Regions from separate parts of the Homo sapiens genome. Here region 1 is linked to region 2. The links are contacts of gene promoters, found by promoter capture Hi-C in human tissues and cell types (Jung and others, 2019). All regions are on one chromosome and are shown on one strand. Each heading gives the region's core, a stretch centred on a gene start or on the middle of the fragment in contact. The rest is flanking DNA. Distances are from core to core; before and after follow the strand shown.

Region 1 (5,535 bases), core at 1,002-3,501, 420 kb after region 2:
ACTAAAAATACAAAATTAGTTGGGTGTGGTGGTGCATGCCTGTAATCCCAGCTACTCGGGAGCCTGAGGCAGGAGAATCGCTTGAACCCAGGAGGCGGAGGTTGCAGTGAACCGAGATCGCACCATTGCACTCCAGCCTGGGCAACAAAAACAAAACTGTCTCAAAAAAACAAACAAAAAAAAGACGAATATCTCTAATTGCTCACTAAAATATGCATACATACGTACATACACCTTCCCCTATGTGTACATCTCATCATCTCTCATTCATTCAAAGGGGAAGCTAGAATTTTGAGATTTCTCCTGGTTCTCTCCAACTTACAGGCCCTCTTGGCCTACATTTGCGCTTGGACCCCATTCATGCTCTCTCTTTCCTCTCTGTGCTGGGGAGTTCACCAGGCCACATTTGTCTGTTTCAGGCTGGACCTGTCGGGACGACTGTAAGTATGAGTGTATGTGGGTCACCGTTGGGCTCTACCTCCAGGAAGGTCACAAAGTGCCTCAGTTCCATGGCAAGGTGAGTTGGAGGGTCAGGGTAGGCATATGGTAGTAGCGTGGTAGGAGTAATATACCCCCTGGTTGGACCACACTGTCCAAGCAGTCTGAGGCATGGGGTAATGCGTGTGTGTTTGGGGCAGCTACCTGTTCTCCCCAAAATCTGCTGGTTTCCATAGAATTGGATAGGACCCATGTGTCCTGCCTCTGGATTTGGAGTAGCAATATCTGGAAGGCTTTGGAGTCTCCCCAGAGAGTGGTGCTGGGCCTCTTAGAGTGGTTGAGATGCCCACCTTACTGCAGGGACAAATTCCCTTACCTACTGTGGCTTGTTTCCTGTTGCTTCTCCAGTAGGGGTCTGGATTCACAGTAATATGCTTCAGCTTGTCTAGCGAGGCACAGTTTGCTGGTACCTTTCTTTCTTTTGTTTTTTGTTTTTTGTTTTTTTTTTTGAGATGGAGTCTCCCTCTGTCGCCCAGGCTGGAGTGCAGTGGCATGATCTTGGCTCACTGCAACCTCTACCTCCCAGGTTCAAGCAATTCTCATGCCTGAGCCTCCCAAGTAGCTGGGACTACAGGTGTGTGCCACCACACCCAGCTAATTTTTTGTATTTTTTTTTTTTTTTTTTTAAGTAGAGATGGGGTTTCACCATGTTAGCCAGGATGGTCTCAATCTCCTGACCTTGTGACCCTCTCGCCTCAGCTTCCCAAAGTGCTGGGATTACAGGCGTGAGCCACCGCGCCTGGCCTGCTGGTACGTTTCAATCCAGTATTATCTCATTCTGGCCTGTTGAGGTTGGCAGGAAGTATTCACCCCAGTTTTTCACAGAGTAAGCTGAGGCTCAAAGGACCGTGGTCAGTGGTAGAGGAGGGGTTGGGACCTGTGTCTTCTGGATGGCAACTCTGTGCTGTTTCCACCAGGCCATACTGAGTCATCTACCCTGACCCATCTGGTCTTCCCAGAGATCAGGGCTTACAGTGCTGTGCCTGCTGGCCAGGATGGGGGTATAACTCTTAACTAGGCACTGGAGGGTGGCTCATTAGTCTGAAGAGGTACTGAACCTGAGGCTTTGGCCAAACTCCAGAGCTGAGGACTCAGCTGAGGACCTGTTGCTTCAGCATGTCAAGAATAGGTGGACTGGGCCAGTTGAGGGTTGCCTGCCCTTCAAACCTCCTTCATCTGCTCCTTTTTCAGTGGCCCTTCTCCCGGTTCCTGTTCTTTCAAGAGCCGGCATCGGCCGTGGCCTCGTTTCTCAATGGCCTGGCCAGCCTGGTGATGCTCTGCCGCTACCGCACCTTCGTGCCAGCCTCCTCCCCCATGTACCACACCTGTGTGGCCTTCGCCTGGGTAGGTAACCTAGCAGGACTCCTGCTGTCTCCTCTTATCTAGGAAGGTGGAGCTCTACATCCCTATTAACACCCAACAGGGCTTCTACTTACCAGCTTCCCCTCTGTTTCCCAGGGCTAAAGTTGCAGCTGCAGGGTGGTAAAGCCTGGGGAGAAAACAGGGAGGGTGCTGAATCGGGCCTTACCTTTCCAGCAGAGCCCTAGGTCAGGCTGTTTGGGAAGGAGAGAGGAAAGAAGGGCATTTTTCTTGTCCTGAAGAAGGAAGCCACTAAAAGACCCAGTAGGACAGTTTACAAACACAGAGGGGAGATGGGGGGCTAAAGAGGATGCTGGGACCACAGGTCTTTCCAAGGGCCCTTCTGGAGGACTTGGAGCAATCTCAATTCCAGCCCAGGCCTGGTGGGGAGTCACAGCCATAGTCTCTGTGTAGAGCTCAGCCTAGTCTTTTTTTTTTTTTTTTTTTTTTTTTTTTTGAGACAGAGTCTCACTGTGTCACCCAGGCTGGAGTGCAAATGGCGCAATCTTGGCTCACTGCAACCTCCACCTCCTGGGTTCAAGCAATTCTCCTGCCTCAGCCTCCCAAGTAGCTGGGATGATAGGCGCGTGCCACCACACCTGGCTAATTTTGTATTTTTAGTAGAGACGGGGTTTCTCCATGTTGGTCAGGCTGGTCTCGAACTCCCAACCTCAGGTGATCCACCCACCTCGGCCTCCCAAAGTGCAGGGATTACAGTTGTGAGTCACTGCACCTGGCGAGCTCAGCCTAGGCTTAGACCATCCCTGGAGAAGCCCAGGTATGGTTACATCTGCAGGTGCAGAAAGGGCTGTCAGCTTCACAGTACGGCTGGTCTAAAGAGCTGTATTCAGGGCCTGGTATTGTGTGATAAGCACAGACTGGGGTGCAGATATGGACCGTGACGGCCTTGGGAAGGGTGTGAGAATGAAAGGTTGCAACGGATGTCTCTAGGTCGGAGCTGCCCCTGTAAGCCTTAAGGAAAAAATTTCCATTCACTCACCTTCCTGCTCTCACAGAAGCCATTCACTCAGGTGTTGAGCACCTACTATATGCCAGGCACTTTGCTGGAGATCCAGAAGTCTGCCCTCTGGTGCTAATCATACAATTGAATGTAAGAGTACAACTATGAAAAAGTGCAGTCGGGGAGAGGTGCTTCAGGGGTGTGTGTAAAGGCAGACCAAGACCAGCATGGGGCCATCAGGGAAGGCTTCCCTGGGGAAGGGGCATTAAAGGTAAGGTGGGAAGGATGCATGAATGTTAACTAGGTAAATTTGAGAAGAGTAAGGGAAGGCTTCTAAAGAGAAGTCTCAGAAAGTGCCCAGGTGGGAGAGAGGGAGGGTCATTCCAGGCAGCCTGACATGCAGGAAATCAGAGAGTGGGTGTGAGCTGGGCGGACTGATGGGTGGTGGATGGGGCCAGCCATGGAGAGCCTCACATTGGAGATCTTGACTCTCAAAGCATCAGGAAGTACGGAGGGATTTTATTTTATTTTATTTTATTTTATTTGAGACAAAGTCTCACTCTGTTGCCCCAGCTGGAGTGCAGTGGCGCTATCTTGGCTCGCTGCAACCTCTGCCTCCCAGTTCAAGCGATTCTCCTGCCTCAGCCTCCTGAGCAGCTGGGACTACAGGCATGTGCCACCATGCCTGGCTAATTTTTGTATTTTTAGTAGAGATGGGGTTTCACTATGTTGGCCAGGCTGGTCTTGAACTCCTGACCTCGTGATCCGCCCACCTCACCCTCCCAAAGTGCTGGGATTACAGGCATCAGCCACCGTGCTCGGCCTACGGAGGGATTTTAAATGAGGGTTGAGGAGAAAAGTTGTTTCATGAATAGATTTGCCCTTTGGAAAGCTCATTCTGGCTACTGTGTAGAGAACAGATTGAAGGGGGCGGGAGTGGATGCAGTAGACCAGTTGGTAGTTTTAGCACAGGGCCCAGTAGCTAGACTAGAGAGGTGGCATGGGTCTTGGGCATTGAAGAGAAGTACACTTGAGCTGTGTTTTGGAGGTAACATTAAAGCTTTTTAAAAATTTATTTCCTTAACAAATACATACATAGCTCATACTGTATGCCAGGCATCACTCTAAGCATTTTATAAGTATTAAGCTTGTTCATCCATAACAAGTGGCAAAAGACAAATTACAGCAAACTTACTTATAGAGCCAATTGGCTTTAATTTGTGATTCATGAATTGGTGCAGCCTCCGTTCTACAAAATAGAATGCAAGTTTCCATTGGGCAATAGCAGAACAGTGGGTTTTGTAAGGTGGGAACCAGGAAACAGAACAATAGAAAGAAACCTGATTGGTTAACATCAGATTTTTTTTTTTTTTTTTTTTTTTTTTTTTTTTTTTTGAGACAGAGTCTCACTCTGTCACCCAGGCTGGAGTGCAGTGGCGCCATCTTGGCCCACTGCAAGCTCTGCCTTCCGGGTTCACGCCATTCTCCTGCCTCAGCCTCCCAAGTAGCTGGGACTACAGGCGCCCACCACCACACCTGGCTAATTTTTTGTGTGTGTATTTTTAGTAGAGATGGGGTTTCACCATGTTAGCCAGGATAGTCTCGATCTCCTGATCTCGTGATCCGCCTGCCTCGGCCTCCCAAAGTGCTGAGATTACAGGCATGAGCCACTGCGCCCGGCCCACATCAGGTTTTTTTTTATAAGGGTTAAAGCAGAGGAGACTTCCTTACTTGGGTAGACTGGACTCTCCTGTTTTCAGGAAAAAGTGGTCTGTTTTGGGACCTATCAGTTACCTTAAAGTTTCAGTTTGAAGATCAAGTGCGGTGGCTCAGGCGTGTAATCCCAGCACTTTGGGAGGCCAAGGCGGGTGGATCACCTGAGGTCAGGAGTTCAAGACCAGCCTGACCAACATGAAGAAACCCTGTCTCTACTAAAAATACAAAATTAGCTGGGCATAGTGTTGCATGCCTTTAGTACCAGATACTTGGGAGGCTGAGGCAGGAAAATCACTTGAACCCGGAAGGCGGAGGTTGCGGTGAGCTGAGATCACGCCATTGCACTCCCGCCTGGGCAACAACAGTGAAACTCCGTCTCAGAAAAAAAAAAAGTTTCAGTTTGATTATGTGGCATTTAGCATGAGTGACTTCATTTTTGTCTGGTCTCTTGGGTCTAGTGCGGGGGCTCAATCCAGAACAATGGCCTCCCGTAATTTTTGTTTAACGCAGCTTATAGGTATTATTATTCTCATCCCCAGTTTATAGATGAGGAAACCAAGGACTGAAAAGGTTAAGTCCAGCCACAGATCACCGAGCCAGGGTTTGAATTCAGGCATCTGGCTCCAGAGTCCACACTTTCAACATCTTGGCTATGCTGATAAACTTCAAGAGTGGATTAGATGAGGAAAGAGCAGTAAGGGATGACCCCTTGTGTTTCTGCTTATAAGACAGTGATGGAGGCCGGGCGCAGTGGCTCACACCTGCGGTTCCAGCACTTTGGAAGGCTGAAGTGGGCGGATTGCTTGAGCTCACAAGTTCCAGACCACCCTGGGCAACATGGTGAAACCCCGTCTCTACCAAAAATACAAAAAAAATAAGCCAGGCCTGGTGGCACATGCCCGTAGTCCCAGCTAGTAGGAGGCTGAGGTGGGAGGATCACTTGAGCCCAGGAGGTCGAGGCTGCAGTGAGCTGTGATCCTGTCACTGTACTCTTGTTGCTC
Region 2 (5,009 bases), core at 980-3,479:
CAGGTCACTGCAACCTCTGCCTCCCGGGTTCAAGCAATTCTCCTGCCTCAGCCTCCCGAGTAGAGTAGCTGGGACTACAGGCGTGCGCCACCACGCCCAGCTAATTTTTGTATTTTTAGTAGAGACGAGGTTTCTCCATGTTGGCCAGGCTGGTCTCAAACTCCTGACCTCGGGTGATCCACCTGCCTCGGCCTCCCCAAGTGCTGGGATTACAGGTGTGAGCCACCACCACACTTGGCCTTTTTTTTTTTTCTTTGAGATGGACTCTCACCCTGTTGCCCAGGCTGTTGTGCAGTGGCATGATCTCGGCTCACTGCAATCTCCATCTCCTGGGTTCAAGCAATTCTCCTGCCTCAGCCTCCCGAGTGGCTGGGACTACAGGCGTGCGCCACCACGCCCAGCTAATTTTTGTATTTTTAGTAGAGATGGGGTTTCACCATGTTGGCCAGGCTGGTCTCGAACTCCTGACCTCAGGTGATCTGCCCACTTCAGCCTCCCAAAATGCTGGGATTACAGGTGTCAGCCACCACCCCCGGACTCCCATATTCTTTTTCTCTACCTTTTCGGTGGCTTTCATGTTTCCCAGGCATCCATCAATACCATCCCAGGAGCTGCCTGTGGAGAAGGGCTTCCTATGTGAAGAAAACCCTCTCTAGAAGCACTGGGACTGGGGAGGAATTAGCGGGAGCAGCAGGTGGCTCAGGCTCCCTCTCCCTTCGCTGCCTAAGAAGCTTCCATCCCCTCCATGACCCAAGCCCTCTAACATGATAGATCTCCTCTACTTGAGATCTGTTATTACTCATGGGACAGTTGCTGCTCTGAAGCGAAATACTGGCTGTTTTTTGTTTGTTTGTTTTGGAGACAGAGTCTCACTCTATCCCCCAGGCCGGAGTGCAATGGCGATCTCGGCTCACTGCAACCTCCACCTCCCGGGTTCTAGCGATTCTCCTGCCTCAGCCTCCTGACTAGCTGGGATTACAGGCACCCACCACCACATCCGGCTAATTTTTGTATTTTTAGTAGAGACGTGGTTTCACCGTGTTGGTCAGGCTGGTCTCAAACTCCTGACCTCAGGTGATCAACCCACCTCAGCCTCACAAAGTGCTGGGATTACAGGCATGAGCCAAAGCACCCGGCAATGCTGGCTGTTTCTAACCCCTGTTCAGTATTTCACTTGTACATCTACCCACCTTCCCATTCGGGGTGGGCAGATGAAACTAGCAATGGACGTCTGACCTTGGGTCGGTCACTTCTCCTAAGCTTCCTGTTCCCCACTAGTAAAAAGAGGGAGGCTTAAGATGATCTACATGTTCCCCTCTGAGTAGTAATCTTCTGTGGAATTCATATTTTATCCTCCAGCACCGAGGGGCAGGGGTGTCACTCTGCCCCCACCCCCTGCCTCACCTCTTCCCCATTACTTTAGGACCTCAAAGCACTTTCACTATTAGTTCCCCTCTGTTGTCCTTTTTATTTCCCAGACAAAGGGAAATGACTCACCCCAAAGTCAACTGGAGTGGGTGGAATGGTGTCATACAAGCAAACAGGGAGTCCCTACAGACATCCCTACCTCTGTGGGAACTCCTTCCCCTGGAGGTGTTCTCCCTAAGGCGAGTAGAAGGGAAAGGGGGTCACATTTCCTTTCCTTCTCTGGACTTTGCCCTGAAGCAGAGGGCAGCCTAAGCTCCTGACTCCAGGGAAATCTCCCTCCCCGGCTTCTCTCTCTCCCGGTCACCAGTAACCTCAGGACGAGGTCAGTCCTGCAATCACGTGAAGCCCTCACGTTTGCAAGGTTTGCAGAAAGGGCCTCTTAGCTTTGATCTCCCAGACAGCAAACAAGCTTGCCAGTCCCTCCCCAGAAATTCACATGCCCCTGCCATACAGGCTTTCTAAACACGCCACCCTGACTCTTCAGCGCACCCCACCCCACCCCACTCTCAGCTCCTCCCAGGTCCCGGCAAGCGCTTTGCCAGGCAGAAAGGGGAAAGGCACGCAGTCCGCCCACTTTGTCGGTGGACTACAAATCCCGACAGTCTTGTCGTTGCGCAGGCGCGCAAGAGCTCAACGTGCCGGCTGTTGGAAAAGTGTGTCACTGGGGCACGAGGCGCTCCCTGGGATCACATGGTACCTGCTCCAGTGCCGCGTGCGGCCCGGGAACCCTGGGCTGCTGGCGCCTGCGCAGAGCCCTCTGTCCCAGGGAAAGGCTCGGGCAAAAGGCGGCTGAGATTGGCAGAGTGAAATATTACTGCCGAGGGAACGTAGCAGGGCACACGTCTCGCCTCTTTGCGACTCGGTGCCCCGTTTCTCCCCATCACCTACTTACTTCCTGGTTGCAACCTCTCTTCCTCTGGGACTTTTGCACCGGGAGCTCCAGATTCGCCACCCCGCAGCGCTGCGGAGCCGGCAGGCAGAGGCACCCCGTACACTGCAGAGACCCGACCCTCCTTGCTACCTTCTAGCCAGAACTACTGCAGGCTGATTCCCCCTACACACTCTCTCTGCTCTTCCCATGCAAAGCAGAACTCCGTTGCCTCAACGTCCAACCCTTCTGCAGGGCTGCAGTCCGGCCACCCCAAGACCTTGCTGCAGGGTGCTTCGGATCCTGATCGTGAGTCGCGGGGTCCACTCCCCGCCCTTAGCCAGTGCCCAGGGGGCAACAGCGGCGATCGCAACCTCTAGTTTGAGTCAAGGTCCAGTTTGAATGACCGCTCTCAGCTGGTGAAGACATGACGACCCTGGACTCCAACAACAACACAGGTACTGAGATTTCTTTACTATCATCTTTTCCCTGTCACTGTCTCCCCACCTCCATCTACGCCTTATAAAAAGAGGAACTTTGTAAGGGACTGGGGTGTCCCTCGGCCCGGAGATTTGCTAACGTGCTGCGGTGCTTTAGTGTGGGATTTCCAGAGCGGCTTGTTCGGGCTGGAAATGCTCTCAGAAACGCCCCATCACCACCCCTCAGAGTCCCAAAGCTCCCTTGAGCCTCGAATCCCTGGGCAGGAGGAAATGGAGAGGAGGTACGGGTGGTGAAGCGAAGAATTTAGGGGGACTGGGAGCTTTGGAACAGTGCCCCGAAACGGCCCCATCTGTCCACTACCTGCAGCTGTAGTATGCCTGGCCTCAGAAAACGGACCCCCTCCCCTCTTGTCTTCCCCCTCCTCTAGTTCCTGCAGGCGCGAGGGAATCTGAGAAGAGTGGCGCGATGGGGTTCAGGGAAGGAGGGGCTGGGAGAATCGTTCGGATCTCACTGGGGAATCCTCAGTGACAGGAGGGAGCGACACTTGAGGAGTCCAGAGCGTGGTGCCCGGCCCGAGGGAGGGCACCTACAGGGCTCCGGCCGCCGGGAGGGCTCACATGGCTCTAGAGCCGGGCCCACGTGCTGCGTTTGTTTTCATTCAGCAGAAGCCGTGGCTGCCACCCCATTGGTCGTTGCCTCCCGGCCTCGTTACATAATGAGCTCCGCCCCCCCGGTCGCCCCGGCAACGCGTGTTCCCTTCTCTCCTCCCCTAGGTTGTCCTGGCCCTGCTATCGTTCGGGGTCCAGCCCACGACCTGGTGGCCGGGGAAGGGCGGGTAGGAGGCGGGGCGACTGCTCTCGATTGACGGGAAGCGAGGAGGGCGGGGCCTCGAGTTCCGGGGTTCCTCGTTGGGGAGCCACGTGCGAGAGGCACACGTGGAGCAGGGACGTGAGGCCGGCTGAGGGCCCAGCTCCCGCCCTGCCCCGCCCCGCCGAGATCTGGGTGAAGCTGGGCTGACTCACCGCCCCCGCCTGCCTCCTTTTCCGGTCCGCCTGCCCGGCCCCCTCCCCCATCACCAAAACAAAGTAACATGGAGCCATTCCTGACCTTTCATGGCCTTCTGTTTTACACTCCCTAAAGAGACCTCACCCCTAACCACCCTTCTCACTCCTTTCCACTTCACTCTTATTTGCACCTACTTCACCGTACTGCATTTAGACTCAGCTTCCCCACATTACAAATTCCTGTTCCCCAAGCTTCTCTCTCCTTAGTTCTGCGAGCATTGTCTTACCCCCATCTCCACCAGACAAGCTGCAGTTTGCCTACTAAGGGCTCCCCAAAGCAACTGCACCCCACAATCATAGCTGAAATGATACTGTCCTTTTTTTCTCACAGAAAGGAAAACTGAGACCCAAAGAGGGGAGTTGATGTCCTCTAGGTCACAAAATAAGTTGGTAGTGATGGGTCTAGACCTAGACCTAGACTCTTGAGTATGCTCCTCACTTCCACGTTGGAAGCCTCTGCATGAAGGTCTCACTCCTTTTTGGGGGATGGGTGAACTAGGTCAACTTCATTTACTGCCAACTAATGATTCCATCCCCCACCTCAGCCCTGAAACCGGGGGAGCTGATCTGTTGTGCAACTATTTTCCAAGGAGCTGGGTTCACCCTGACCAACCTTGAGCTATTTTAGGGCCGCCCTGCCCAGTTCAGTGTGTGTCAGTGGGTGAGCAAGACATGTGCCTCTGCAGACACAGTGGCATGGCATGTGTTAGGTCACATGTGTCCTGGGATCCTCCCTTCTCCCACCCCGCCCATGGCAGACCAATCTAGGTGCTTGCCGGAGGTGTGGCAGGCAGGTCACCTTTTTCTCCTGCTAATACCACGGGAGCACAGCCACCTCATTGGCAATGTAACCAGAGGGTCAAAGTCCCTGAATGGCCAGAGAGCCAAGGTCATTGTTACCAGGCTGAGATCTGAAGGGGGAATTTTAGAGCCCCAGGCTGGACAGTTTGTACTTCCACCTCCTGCAACTCGCACCTCGAAGTCCTTTTTGGACACAGGGATAGACTCCACTGTGGCTCACTCTCTTAAGAGGCCAGGGGAACCAGGCTGGGCAGATTCCTTCCCTTCATTTCCTTCAGAGAATATATGTCCCCAACTGGGGGGAATGTGACTGTCTTACTTTTGTAAACCCTCCATTCTCTTTACTGTTGGCTACCTATCTCTCCATGGTCCATGGTCTCATTCCTGGAATGGTCTTAGTGTTAAAA

The links. The method cuts DNA at HindIII sites, captures the fragments that hold promoters and counts their contacts. A contact is called where the count stands out against the background at its distance.
Region 1: a contact is called between a fragment that was not itself captured here and the fragment with the promoter of NR1D1 in region 2, in 1 of the 25 tissues and cell types used here (lymphoblastoid cells).

Annotation. Positions count from the first base shown.
Region 1 is chr17:39,680,904-39,686,438 of GRCh38, reverse strand. PGAP3 (post-GPI attachment to proteins phospholipase 3) reads left to right here. Exons shown (of 8, transcript NM_033419.5): 2 at 420-517; 3 at 1,690-1,842. Among named protein-coding and RNA genes, the nearest start is that of PGAP3, 4.4 kb to the left of the region's middle. The HindIII fragment of the contact is 6,437 bases long and covers 1-5,469 here.
Region 2 is chr17:40,097,809-40,102,817 of GRCh38, reverse strand. NR1D1 (nuclear receptor subfamily 1 group D member 1) reads left to right here and starts at 2,229. Exons shown (of 8, transcript NM_021724.5): 1 at 2,229-2,754. The coding sequence starts at 2,724. RefSeq lists enhancers at 1,864-1,983, 2,464-2,533, 1,999-2,982, 2,983-3,967, 2,886-4,085 and silencers at 3,315-3,404, 3,415-3,764, 4,288-4,582. The HindIII fragment of the contact is 7,590 bases long and covers 1,550-5,009 here.